Regions from separate parts of the Homo sapiens genome. Here region 1 is linked to region 2. The links are contacts of gene promoters, found by promoter capture Hi-C in human tissues and cell types (Jung and others, 2019). All regions are on one chromosome and are shown on one strand. Each heading gives the region's core, a stretch centred on a gene start or on the middle of the fragment in contact. The rest is flanking DNA. Distances are from core to core; before and after follow the strand shown. Region 1 has its middle 79 kb from the start of GPR139. Region 2 holds the start of UMOD (uromodulin).

Region 1 (6,029 bases), core at 736-3,235, 200 kb before region 2:
TTGGGAGGCTGAGGCAGGAGAATCACTTGAACCTGAGGGGGGCAGAGCTTGCAGTGAGCCAAGATTGCGCAACTGCACTCCAGCCTGGGTGACAGAGTGAGACTCCACCTCAAAAAAAAAAAAAAGCAATGCTCTTCTCTAGGTTGTCTACTACCATATAGCCCTTAGGCCTGGCACAGTGCCAGTGATAGAGTAGATACTGAACAAATATGTAGTGACTGGATGTTGAAGGCATTTATAAGTCTGGGTTCAATTATTTTAAAATTCCTCTGCATTACAAAATGCTCTGTTTGGGAACAGTTGGGAAGGAATTCAAATAACCTTCTCAGATGGTGGAAGATTGTTGAGAGCAGTGATTTTTAGAGAGCATTGCCCTTTACGTGGGAACTCTGCATCCTTTCATCTAAGTCGCTGGTCACACTTGAAATCACTCAATACCACTTGAAGCTCACTGTCACCTCTTCCTCCACTCTGGCCGTAGCAATCATTTCTCTAGGCTCAGGCAACAGTTAATTTAAGGTAGCAATTAAATGGAACCAAATTGCTCTTTAAATATCATAAATCATTTAACAGAATGACTTTCGTCTGCCAAAAAGAATTAATCCCTAAAGCTGGAAAAATGCTCCAAGTGTATATATGTGTGCTTATGTGTATTTTTTCCCTTCTGAAAATAAATGGGAAAATCATAACTTTTTACTATGAAAATTTTCCAGCACACTCAGTAGTGGAGAGAAGTATCTAATGAACTCTTGTGCACCCAACACAACTCCAACAATCATAAAAATGTTGCCAAGCTTGTTTCATCAAAACCCCCGACTTTCTTTCTTTTATTTTTCTGGCTGGAGTTTGCCAAAGTAAATCCCAGACATCATATTATTCTACTGCAGACATAAAGGAGAAAGACTTTTTTTTTTTTCTTTCTCTCTCTCTCTACAGTGCTGCATTGCCATTATCACACCCAGAAGACCAACGATAATTCTCCAATAGCTTTCAGTACTCAATCCACACTGAATTATCTGAAATGAGAAATGATGAAGGACGGGCCACTGGTCTTACTGAAATAAAACTTGACACCTTCTGACATCCATCTCCTTGTTGAATACATTCTCTCTTCATCTCTCTGGTGTCTAGTTTCTATCTCTTGGGACTGTTCGCTTCTCCTGCTACAGAGACTTTCCCTTGGCATCATCTCTACCCTCTGCTTGAAAGAGCCTATTGATTTTTTGGAAGATTTGGAGAAGAGGCCTGGCACAGATTTACATAGGTCCTCTCCTAAGGGAAGACCAGGTCTTCCAACTCACCTTCAAAGATGGAGAGGATTTTGCAAGGATGCCTGTAGTCCAGTGAGGGAGACACTAATGCCTATCTTGCTAGCCAGATGTGCAAGATCAAAAGTCAGTCATTCTAGCAGCAGATGCTGTTGTCAGGGCACCTTGAGATACCATTTGTGTCAATCTACTTAGGTCTGTCTGCTTGACTCTCTAATTCATCCATCTGTTGCTCTGTTTGTCTATCACTAATCTATTCAAGCATGTGCCTATCTAGCTAGTGATGATTCTCTTAAATCTATTTAAGTGATTGCTCTAAGCTGCTCATTGGTACAAGTAATTCATCCCATTACCAATAATTACTCAAAGCCCATTGGTTTTTGCCCTACCAACTCATGCCGAATTTCAGTCTCCTGAAAATTCAGCTCATCTTCAAACGCACTGTATATTTTACTTACTTGATGTTTTGCATGTCATTCTCTCTGGATTGTAAACTCCATGAGGGCAGGCCTTTTGGTCTATTTTGCTCATTGTTGTGTCCCATAGCCCATTTCCAGGCCTGGCGTATGGTAGGTGTTCAATACATATTTAATAGGTGAATGAATGAATGAACAATTATCATCCCCATTTTACAGATGAGCAATAGGGGCTCAGGGAGGTGAAAGAACTTGCTCAAGGTCATGTCTAAAAAAGAGAAAAACTGACCTTTGAACACAGGACCATCCAATTTATAGGCATCATGCTCCTAACAGATTGCCATATTGCTTCCAGCAAATTAAATATTCCATGGCAGGAGTTATATTCTCGTTGCATTCTACTGTCTCTTCTGGAAGTTTCTGTTATTGTCAAACCTGAAATCCTCTATGTTGTTTTTTATTCTAGTCACATAGAAGACATGATTTAGAAAAATTTGGATTTTTGATATACCTTTTCTCTTTGATTTGGGCACTGTATGTCTTAGAAACAAGAAAGTTGATTTGGCTGTAATGTGAACATGGGAAAAATGCAATGAAAATTATCTTGGGGCTTCCTTTATAGGCAAAAGATGTTGGGATATATGTTTTGGGGTTGTAATCGTTCATCTGACAAAAAGTCCTTCTTATTTCTTCATTTTAGCAGATATTTCTTGAGCATCTGCTGTATTTCAGGCACTCTGCTGGGTGCTAAGAATGTAACAATGAATGAGACACAGAGGTTAATCTCTGTTGTTGCAAGATGACCTCCAGCAAAATATTGGGTCACCATGAGCATATATATATAAACAATATTTAGTTAATATCTTTTACATACTTGACTAATCTTTTAAAACAATTATTTAATTATTATCTTTAAATTTAATTAACTTAATTATCTAACTACTTATATGACAGCTCTTTTTAAAATCATTCAACTAATCATTTGTGCTTATTTATTAAATTTTTCTAATTTTAAAAGAAATAGTCATCTTACGTTGGATTACCTGTTAAGGATGTTGAGAAAAATGTGAGATTATGCAATTTTTAAAACTTTATGCCCAGTCGCAGTGGTTCACGCCTGTAATCTCAGCACTTTGGAAGGCCGAGGCAGGAGGGTCACAAGGTCAGGAGTTCGAGACTAGCCTGGCCAACATGGTGAAACCCCGTCTCTACTAAAAATACAAAAATTAGCTGGGTGTGGTGGCGGGTGCCACCACCTCCAGCTACTCTGGAGGCTGAGGCAGGATAATCGTTTGAACCCAGGAGGCAGAGGTTGCAGCCAGCTGAGATCATGCCATTGCACTCCAGCGTGGGCGACAGGACGAGACTGTCTCAAAAAACAAAAACAAAAACAAAAACAAAAACAAAACTTTACCGTTTGAGGCATATGTAATTGTCATATGTAACTGTTGAAAATAAGGGAAACATTGGCAATTTCATATAGTTCAACTTAAACATGTTATCTGACTGTAAACTAAAATATTGGACCATCTTGTTTAGTTCTAGGGCTCATCTACTGAAAGTAATGTCATATTTTAGCGTTGGAGCTATCGTGAAGTATATGCTAAAAACTTGATCATTATAGTAGGGTTGGCTTTGGGAGGTTATGTGAAGAAGTCATACAACCTCATAAAGAGTCAGGAAGGTGACGTGAAAAATCACCTTAAGAAGACTGAATATGTATCAAGCCTGTAAAATGTTAATGTAACCTGATTTAATATATTAGCAGAGTCAAATAAGGAAAGTGTCAGTCAAAAAGAGACAGGCAGGAGATTGTGCAGCCATGGAGATGAGAGAAAGGAGAAGGACCATTGGGATACTCAAGTCAGTACTGTCCATCTAGAAAGAAATTTTGACCAATAGAAATTTTCTGTATCTCTGAGATAATTTACATATGATAAAACCTTCAGTGTTAAATTAAATGAATTTTGGCAATTATGTACAACTATGAAACCCAAAATATAGTACATTTTCTTCACCTCAGAAAATTCCAGGCCCTTTCCAATCAAAACCAACCCCCTTCCAGGCAACCACTTTGTGATATTTTTCACTTTGAATAATGTAACCTATTCTAGAACTTGGTATAAGTGGAATCATCTGTATATATCCCTTTGTGTAAGGCTTCTCTTGCTAAATATAATGTTTTTGAGATTCAGCCATGTTTTTGGGCATATAAGTAGCTTTAAAAAATATTGCTGAGTAGTATTTTATTGTATGAATATACTACAATTTGTTTATCCATTCTCCTGCTTAGGATTGACCAGCGTGTATCTTTTATTGTGATAAAACATATATATAACATAAAAGTTACCATTTTAACCACTTTTAAGTATGTGTCATTTTCATTGGCACTAGGCACATTTATAATTTGTGCACCTATCACCACTACTTATCCAGAACTTTTGATCATTCCAAACAGAAGCTCTGTAGTTATAAAACAAAAATTCCCCATTCTTTCCCCAGACCCTACCCCCCTGGTAACCCCCATACAACTTTATGTCTCTATGAATTTGGCAATTCTAGACACCTCATATAAATGAAATCATACAGTATTTGTCTTTTAAAGGCTGGCTTATTTCAGTTAGCATAATGTTCTCAAAGTTCATTGGTGTTGTAGCATGTGGCAGAATTTCATTCCTTTTTAGGGCTGAATAATATTCCATTATATGTATATACCATATTTTATGTATTTGTTCATTTAATAATAGACACTTGTGCTGTTTTCACCTTTTGGCTACTGTGAATGCTGCTGCTATGAACAATGGTGCGCAAATATATGTTTGAGTCCCTGCTTTCAATTCTCTTGGGTATATACCCAGAAATGGAATTGTTGAATCATGTGGTAATTCTATGTTTAATTTTTTGAGGAACTGCCATACTGCGTTCTATAGTGGCTGCACCTTTTACATCCTCACTAGCAATGCACAAGGGTTCCAATTTCTCCACATCTTTGCCAACACTTGTTATTTTCAGGTTTCAATTTTTTAAAATAACAGCCATCCTAATGGATGTGAAGTGGTATCTCATTGTGGGTTTGATTTGCATTTTGCCTAATAGCTAATGATGTTGAACATCTTTTCATGTGCTTCTTGGGCATTTCTATATATTTGGAGAACTATCTATTCAAGTATTTTGCCTGTTTTTGAATTGGGCTACTTTTGTTGTTGTTGTTGAGTTGCAGGAGGTCTTTACACATTCCAGATATTAATCCCTTACCAGATATATGTTTTACTAATATTATCTCCCATCCCATGGGTTCTCTTTTCACTCTCTTGATAATGTCCTTTGATGCACAAAAGTTTTTACTTTTAATGAATTCCAATTTATCATTTTTTTTTCTTTTGTTGCCTGCACTATTGGCATCATATCCAAGAAACTATTACCCAATCTAATGTCATAAAGATTTTCCCCTATGTTTTCTTCTAGGAGTTTTATAGTTTTAGCTCTTCCATTTAGGTCTTTGATTCATTATGAGGTTTTATATCCTTTTGGTATATGATCTGGTATAAGGGTCCACCTTCATTCTTTTACATGTAGATATCCAGTTTTCCCAGCACCATTTGTTGAAGGCATCATCATTTTTCCATTGAATAATCTAAGCAATCTTTTTAAAAGTTAACTGACCATATATATGATGATTTATTTCTGGACTCTTCTATCCATTGGTCTGTATGTCAGTTCTCATTCTAGTACCAAACTGTTTTGATTACTGTAGCTTTGTAGTAAGTTTTGAAATCAGGAACTGAGCATCCTCCAAATTTTGTTCCTTTTTCTTTTTCAAAATTGTTTTCGTTATTCAGAGTCCTTTGAGAGTCCATAAGAGTTTAAAGATGGGTTTTTCTATGTCTTCAAAAAAGCACTATTAGGGACAGGGCAAATAACTGTGGCTCTCTGGGAACACTGAGGCTCACACCACATCGAGGCACAAGCTGGTAAAACCCCAGCACATCAACTTGAACGAGGACCAGGGTGAGCAGCAGCCACAGCAGCTGACCCTAGCATTTGCAGATGCGGGCCCAGTGGTGCTGGTGGCCTGGGAGCTGGGGCTGCTGTAACAAACAACCACAAACTGGATGGCTTAAAACAACAGAAATTTATTCTCTCACCGTTCTGAGGCCAGACGTCCAAACTTTAGGTGCTCCAGTGAACCACCCAGGGAATCACGATGATAAAGCGGCTTCATTGGGAGGAAACACACAAATGTGAGAAATGTTGTGTGGAGTTCTTTAGCATTTGTGAGTTCTTAGAACATAAGAAAAATTGCACTAAAAATCCACCTGTTGTGTTGTCATCATGAATGACAGCG
Region 2 (6,903 bases), core at 1,394-3,893:
TTGGTAAGAAGTAGAACCAGGATAAAAACGCAGATGGCAGGACCACAAAATATGTGCTTTTAACCAGGACACCGCAATAGTATTCATCGTGCCCCAACGTACTCCAGGGAGAAAATGAAAGTGGGGTGACAGCAAATCTCAACCCAATGGAATGACCTCTTAAAGTTGAAAGGGAAGGTGTTTGGATCCTCCTGCATGGGTTCAAATCTCCTATGTGATAGAGTATGTTTCTGACTTCCAATAAAGGGCCTGCAGGCCTTAGAGATGTTCTAGCCCCTTGCTTTTCAATGTGTACTCCAGGGACCCCAGTATGAGCATCGCCTGGAAGCTTGTTAAAAATTCAGCATCTCAGGTCCTACTGCAGATCTGCTGAACCAGAATATGCACTTTAGCAAAATTTCTAAGTCAGTCCTGTGCATATTGAGTCTAAGAAATGGACTTAGAATGAAGACAATGCAAGTCTCAAGTGCGATAGGAGGATTGAGATCACCTCTGACAGGTGCTACATTGCTTCCCCCACACATTCACACATACACGTGCATACACACATATACAACGCACACACACTTTTCACTTACTTGCTTCTGAGGTGTCAGTGGCTGCAGTTGTGATGAACCAAGAGGCCACCACCACCATCAGCATCCAAGTCAGAGATGGCTGCCCCATCCTTTCTGCTCTTCCCGCTACTTCAGGTCTAGATAGCACCTGCCCAAAGGAAAGACGGGTTGGCCCTTTGAATTTTTCTCTCTGTCTCTGATGTCTGGTGTCCTGTGAACAGAGATGGATGGGACAAATGCATGATCTAACTCTCCTCCCCACAGCTGGAAGGAGTGCTTTGATTGTATAGTATACAACTCCAGGAGGTGTCACTTATATGGACTAAAAAATTGCATAACACTGCAGCCCTTGTTTTGCTGGGACTTTACCCCTTGTACTCCCCCTCCTTACCTCACCAACATCCCAGTCTTGGCTCCCCAATTCTCAGCACATTGCACATTTTGAAGAACTCAGTCATTTGGAGCAGGAAGTAGCCAGATGGAATAGTGTTCTGGACTCACCACTTTACTGAAGGCAGCTTTGGATTTTAACTGATCCTCTGCCTGGAAACTTTCAATTTGCCTGGATCACTTATTCATTCAACAAACATCTATTGAGTAGCTACATTGTGCCAAACAGGGAGCTAGTCACCATGGAGAACAATGAACATGGCAGTCTGCTCCTTCATGCAACTCACATATCGTAAAGAAGTGGCTTGAGACGAGCAACTTGAGAGGTAATTAACCTTCACAATGCATTTAAATGTTTCTGGAGTGGTCACTTACTATTTCTTCCAATTGGAAAAATAGTCCAGGGTGGATGCCAGTATTACCCCAGTGTTTATAGCAGCAAAATAGGGTGGCATGTTGGTTAAGTATGTAGGAGCTGCAGCCTGCACCTGAGGTTCAAATCCCTGCTTTACTGATCACTAACACTGTGATGTGGGTATTTCAGTTTACTAAGTCTCCGTTTTTGTCTGTGAAATGGAGATTGTTGCTTTCACAAACTGAATATCTATGATGGGCCAGGCTCAGTTCAAAGACATTCATGTGCTCAAAGGCATTGGGTCCTAGAGCAACGTTTTCCAGATCTTCGTGACCATGATGTACTAAAAGAAAAACATTTTATGTTGCCAGGTGCAGTGGCTCATGCCTGTAATCCCAACACTTTGGGAGACTGAGGGGGTGGATCACAAGGTCAGGAGTTTGAGACCAGCCTGGCCAGCATGGTGAAACCCCATCTCTAATAAAAATACAAAAATTAGCCGGGCATGGTGGTGGGCGCCTGTAATCCCAGCTACTCGGGAGGCTGAGACAGGAGGATTGCTTGAACCTGGGAGGCAGAGGTTGCAGTGAGCTGAGATCGTGCCACTGCACTCCTGCCTGGGTGACAGAGAGTCCATCCCCCCCCCCCAAAAAAAAAAAGACAGAAAGAAAGAAAAACATTTTATGTCATGATCTAGTGCAGTCGCTTCTGCATGTATGTGCACACACACATAAAATTTTATAAGACAATTGATATCCTTACTACATTAAGTGATTTAATTCTTACCACAACCCTATGAGATAAGTATTATCCTAGTTTGCAGATGAGAAAACAGGGGGACAAAGAGGCTAACTGCTTGCCTCAAATTTGTATTGCTTACTGACATATTCTATTATATTTAATTAAAAGAAGTCCCTGGATATAACCCACAAAAGGAATGATTTTATGACCCGCTAATAAGATGCGACCTAAAACACTGCATATTGTCACTGGGATTAACTAAGATGACATATGTCGAGCAGGGCCCAGCACATAGCAAGTTGTTCATTGTTGTAACCCTGGTACCTGGCACATAATAGGTGCATAACTAATATTCATGGAATAAGTCAAAAAATAGTAGTCATTGTTACTAGGACAGAGAGGATCAAAGAGAGGAAAACTAACTTACTAAAGATCATGAAGCCAATAATTGGCAGAATAATGACTCAAATCCAGGTCTGACCCCAGTGTCCAAGGTCTTAATTTCCTCTCCTACCTCCCTCAAATAGGATGGGGAGAAGCTGGGCTAGGAGAAGACAGCTACAGATAGCCTTACCTGAAGCCAGAAAGGTAGAGTTAGTCTGGTCATGATGTGCCTCATACTTATATATACACATTTGCCCCAGGCTGGCAATCTCTCCTCCAATTAGTCTCTAGTTCTGTTTTTTGATATTGTTTTCTTGGGGGTGGAATATTTTTTCCTCCTGGCATAATGTTTGCCTTGTCCAAGCTGTGAGGTTGTTGTTGTTCTTTTTCCTAATAGCTAGAGACCCCAAATGATTGACATTGGGGGGTCACACCTGTGCCCGGAAATACAAGGTCACTGTTTCGCACCTTCTAACAGCAAGAGATTCCATAGTTAGAAATTAACTGGGAAAGCAGTGCCAAGGTGCTGGGCTTCTTCTTGGTCACTGACAAGGGCAGGGTGGGATCAAGGAGCCAGGCAGAAGCCAGTATCTGAAGCCAGGCTGCATAAGGACAAAAGGGATATTCACTGCCCCAGATGGGAGGTGCACCTGTCTTGGAGAGGGCACCCTTCTGAAACACCCATTCTCATGAGATCAGCCTTAGAATCCAGACACAAGCAAGAGAGGAGCTGAGAATGGCTGAAAGTCAGAACCAGAAGGTAGTTCAGACATCACTGGACCTGACCCACTCTGTACAACAAAGAATCAGGTCTGATGACTGGGAGGTCCCTTTGGAGGCGAAATAAATTTGCACTTAAATAGACTGACTTTGGAGTCAGTCTGCCTCCTTTATCTGGTGTTTATTGTGTGGCAGTGGGCTCATTTCTTAACCTTCCTGAGGTCCAGAGGTCAATTTCCTTGTCTATAAAATGAGAATACCCATCTCCCACAGTAGTAATAGTAACCAAAGGAGATGATGCAAGTAAAGTCATATAGTAATGATTATATTCATGGAAGTAGTGAAAATTCTGCTTTGCTGTTGTGCAATCACTGAGGTAGAAAATGACAGAGCCTGAGTTAAAACCATGTCTTCAGACCCAGTTCAACATACATGACATTCCAAAAGTCAGTGTGAGAGTGGCTGTCATCATGTTGAGAAAAATAAAATATGTGTGAACTTGGGCTGAGCAGGAAAATATCACCATGATCACTGCATTGATCTTTTTTTTTTTTATACTTTAAGTTTTAGGGTACAAGTGCACAACGTGCAGGTTTGTTACATATGTATACATGTGCCATGTTGATGTGCTGCACCCATTAACTTGTCATTTACATTAGGTATAACTCCTAATGCTATCCCTCCCCGCTCCCCGCATCCCACAATAGGCCCCTGGGTGTGATGTTCCCCTTCCTGTGTCCAAGTGCTCTCATTGTTCAATTCCCACCTGTGAGTGAGAACATGCGGTGTTTGGTTTTTTGTCCTTGCGATAGTTTGCTGAGAATGATGGTTTCCATCTTCATCCATGTCCCTACAAAGGACATGAACTCATATTTTTTATGGCTGCATAGTATTCCACGGTGTATATGTGCCACATTTTCTTAATCCAGTCTATCATTGATGGACATTTGAGTTGGTTCCAAGTCTTTGCTATTGTGAATTGCTCTTTTCAGGACATTTCTCCATCCTGTCCCACTCAGTGGTAGGGTAACCACTGGCACTGGTGTTGTCATCTCCTCAGGATTATGTCCAAGGAGTGGAAATTCTGGGTCAAAGAGGTAGCACAGCTGTAGGAATATTGACTCCTCTTCCCAAACAGCACCCCAGAGAATTATTATAAATTGGTTTACAATCCCACCAACACTACTCACCAGTTCTGAGCATTGGTAACTTGCTTTCATCTTTGCCAAAAGGATAAGTGGAAACGATCTCATTATTGTTCATTTTTGCAATTCTTTGATGAAAAGGGAAGTTATCTCTTCATTTATTTACTTTTTTTTTTCTGAACTAGTCGTTTTTATCCTATACCTTTTTCATGAGGCCTTGTCTAAACCTTATTATGGGTGTCTTCAAAGGATTAAAGACAGTGACCCCAGGTGGCTTCTGGAGTTTTCTTGACAAAGACTTGGGCAGGAAAATGGGGAGTTTGGGTTGGAATCTATTCATAAGTGTAATCACCATGCTTTCTAGTTTCTGTATTTGGTGCTTGTACATTTTGGGGCCTTACTGATCATGGAGGGACTGCCCCTCCCAGGGCTCAATAATTACTAGAGATCAAAAACGACTTATCTGTGAATGTGCCTTTCCGACTGCAAATCAATCAATCCAGACCACATACCCCCAACCCTTGGCCTCCTTTTTGGGGCTTTTACACTTAGGGTCACTACTTGCTGCTTTAGATCACCCCAAGGGACCAGGTACCAGACAACTAGAGACAACTCCTATGGCCCAGAGGTCTCTGAAATTATTCAAACTAAGCCAATCCTAAATCTGCTTACCTTGCCTCTCCCATTCCTTCCTGCAGAAACTACAATAAAGGCTCTTTCCTGCCTTTTCCCTTGCTCTCTTTGCTTCCTGACCGACCCTGGTACTTCCCAGCAGCTCTTCCTCTCCCTTCAGCCCCTCTGCCCAGTGTGGTGTGTCCCCTTCTCTTGGGATCTGTGAGTATAACAAGTTGTCAGTGGCCATAATTTCCTGCTCTGTTGCTCATCAAGTTCACCAAAGACATCCATGTTACCAAATTCAATCAATATTTTTCTCTTTATCTTACCTCTAGGACAGTGCACAATAAATATTTGTTTTTGAACGAACCTTAATCTCTCAGCACTTCGCTCTTGAAACACTCTTCTTTCTTTCTTTCTTTTTCTTCTTCTTTTTTTTTTTTTTAATGGAGTCTTGCTCTGTCACCCAGGTTGGAGTGCAGTGGCTCAGTCTTGGCTCACTGCAACCTCCACCTCCCAAGTTCAAGTGATTCTCTTGAATCCTTGAATCCTCAGCCTCCCGAGTAGCTGGGATTACAGGTGCATACCACCATGCCCGGCTAATTTGTGTTTTTTTTGTACACATTGGCCAGGCTGGTCTCGAACTCCTGACCTCAGGTAATCTGCCTGCCTCGGCCTCCCAAAGTGCTGGGATTACAGACATGAGCCACCACAACCAGCCTGAAACACTTTTCTCTCTTAACTTTCAAACATGGGTAGGAGACTTGATCTTAATAATGCTGAGAACAATCACCCACTGAGCACTTCTCTTGGGTCAGACACTGTGCTCAGTGCTTTTGCCTCCATTGTCTCAAACAATGAAACACAACAACCCACGTCACAGGGAAGAAGACAAGTTCAGAGAGGTGGAGTAACTCCCCCAAGATTACACAGCTAGCGAGTGTTAAATCCAGACTAAAACTCAAATCTCACTCAGATTTACCTGCATTCCTTGGGTTACAGAACATTCCATGCTCAGCCATGACAGGGTCTTAGAAGGATAAGTGGTTTTAGGTAGTTTTGGAAAGAGTGAAACTAAAGGGTGGAGAGTTTTGAAAAATTGATCAAACAGAACACAAAAACTTAGAATGAGAGGTTGGTGTGTGTCAGAAAGCGGCAAAAAATGAGCCAAGGGAGAAGATCCCCCAAAAGAGGGGTATTACCTGTCCCACCTACCTCTCTGAGCACACACCTCCTGAGGCTCCAGTTACGCCTGGGGGACCTGGAGGTGGCACACCCATTCTCTGGCTCGTGGCCTGTCAGGGGCTCTATGCCACATGATCTAGTCTAGGCAGCCCCCCGTAACCCTCCTTCAACTGGCAGCCACATGACCTCAAGGCCGAGGCAGGTGAGCCTTACACCGTGTCCTGAATACTAACACCTGCTCCTGTTGGGGAATTCGGCTCAGGTGAGTTCCAGAGCCGCAGGCTGTTCCCTGCTTCCTCTGGTTGTGGACAGGCCAGGTTCAGGGTGAGGGGCATGGGAGCTGTCTCTGGAGGTATGAGAAAGCACAAATAGCCTTTGCCTTACATGACAGGTGAGGAGTGGAGAGACCCAGGTGGTTTCTAGAGACCTCAATTTCTAAAAGAATGCTGCCCTTCTTTTCTCAAGAGAAGGCCTGGCTGAAATGAATGACACAAATCCATGAGTTAAATCTGTGGTAGGCTGAATAATGACCCCCAAATACGTTCACCTCTGAATCCCCAAACCTGTGTGTGTTGCCTTTTATGGCAAAAGGGACTGTGCAGTGTGATTACAGATCCTGAGATGGAGAGGTTGTCTGGGCAGGCTGGATGCAATCACAGTGGTGCCTATAAAAGTGATGCAGGAGGAGTCAGAGGAAGTAGGTGTAAGGATGAAATGAAAAGTCAGAGTGATTCTAGGACAGAACCATAAACCAAGGAATGCAGGGGCCTCCCAGAAGCTAGAAAAGGCATAGCAGGGAATTCATCCAAAA

What was found. The method cuts DNA at HindIII sites, captures the fragments that hold promoters and counts their contacts. A contact is called where the count stands out against the background at its distance.
Region 1: a fragment that was not itself captured here is called in contact with the fragment with the promoter of UMOD in region 2 in 2 of the 25 tissues and cell types used here (small bowel and thymus).

The regions. Positions count from the first base shown.
Region 1 is chr16:20,149,724-20,155,752 of GRCh38, forward strand. It overlaps the pseudogene SALL4P3. Among named protein-coding and RNA genes, the nearest start is that of GPR139, 79 kb to the left of the region's middle. The HindIII fragment of the contact is 5,218 bases long and covers 1-4,594 here.
Region 2 is chr16:20,350,072-20,356,974 of GRCh38, forward strand. It overlaps UMOD (uromodulin), which reads right to left and starts at 2,644. Exons shown (of 11, transcript NM_003361.4): 1 at 2,618-2,644; 2 at 579-768. The coding sequence starts at 666. The HindIII fragment of the contact is 15,409 bases long and covers 1-6,903 here.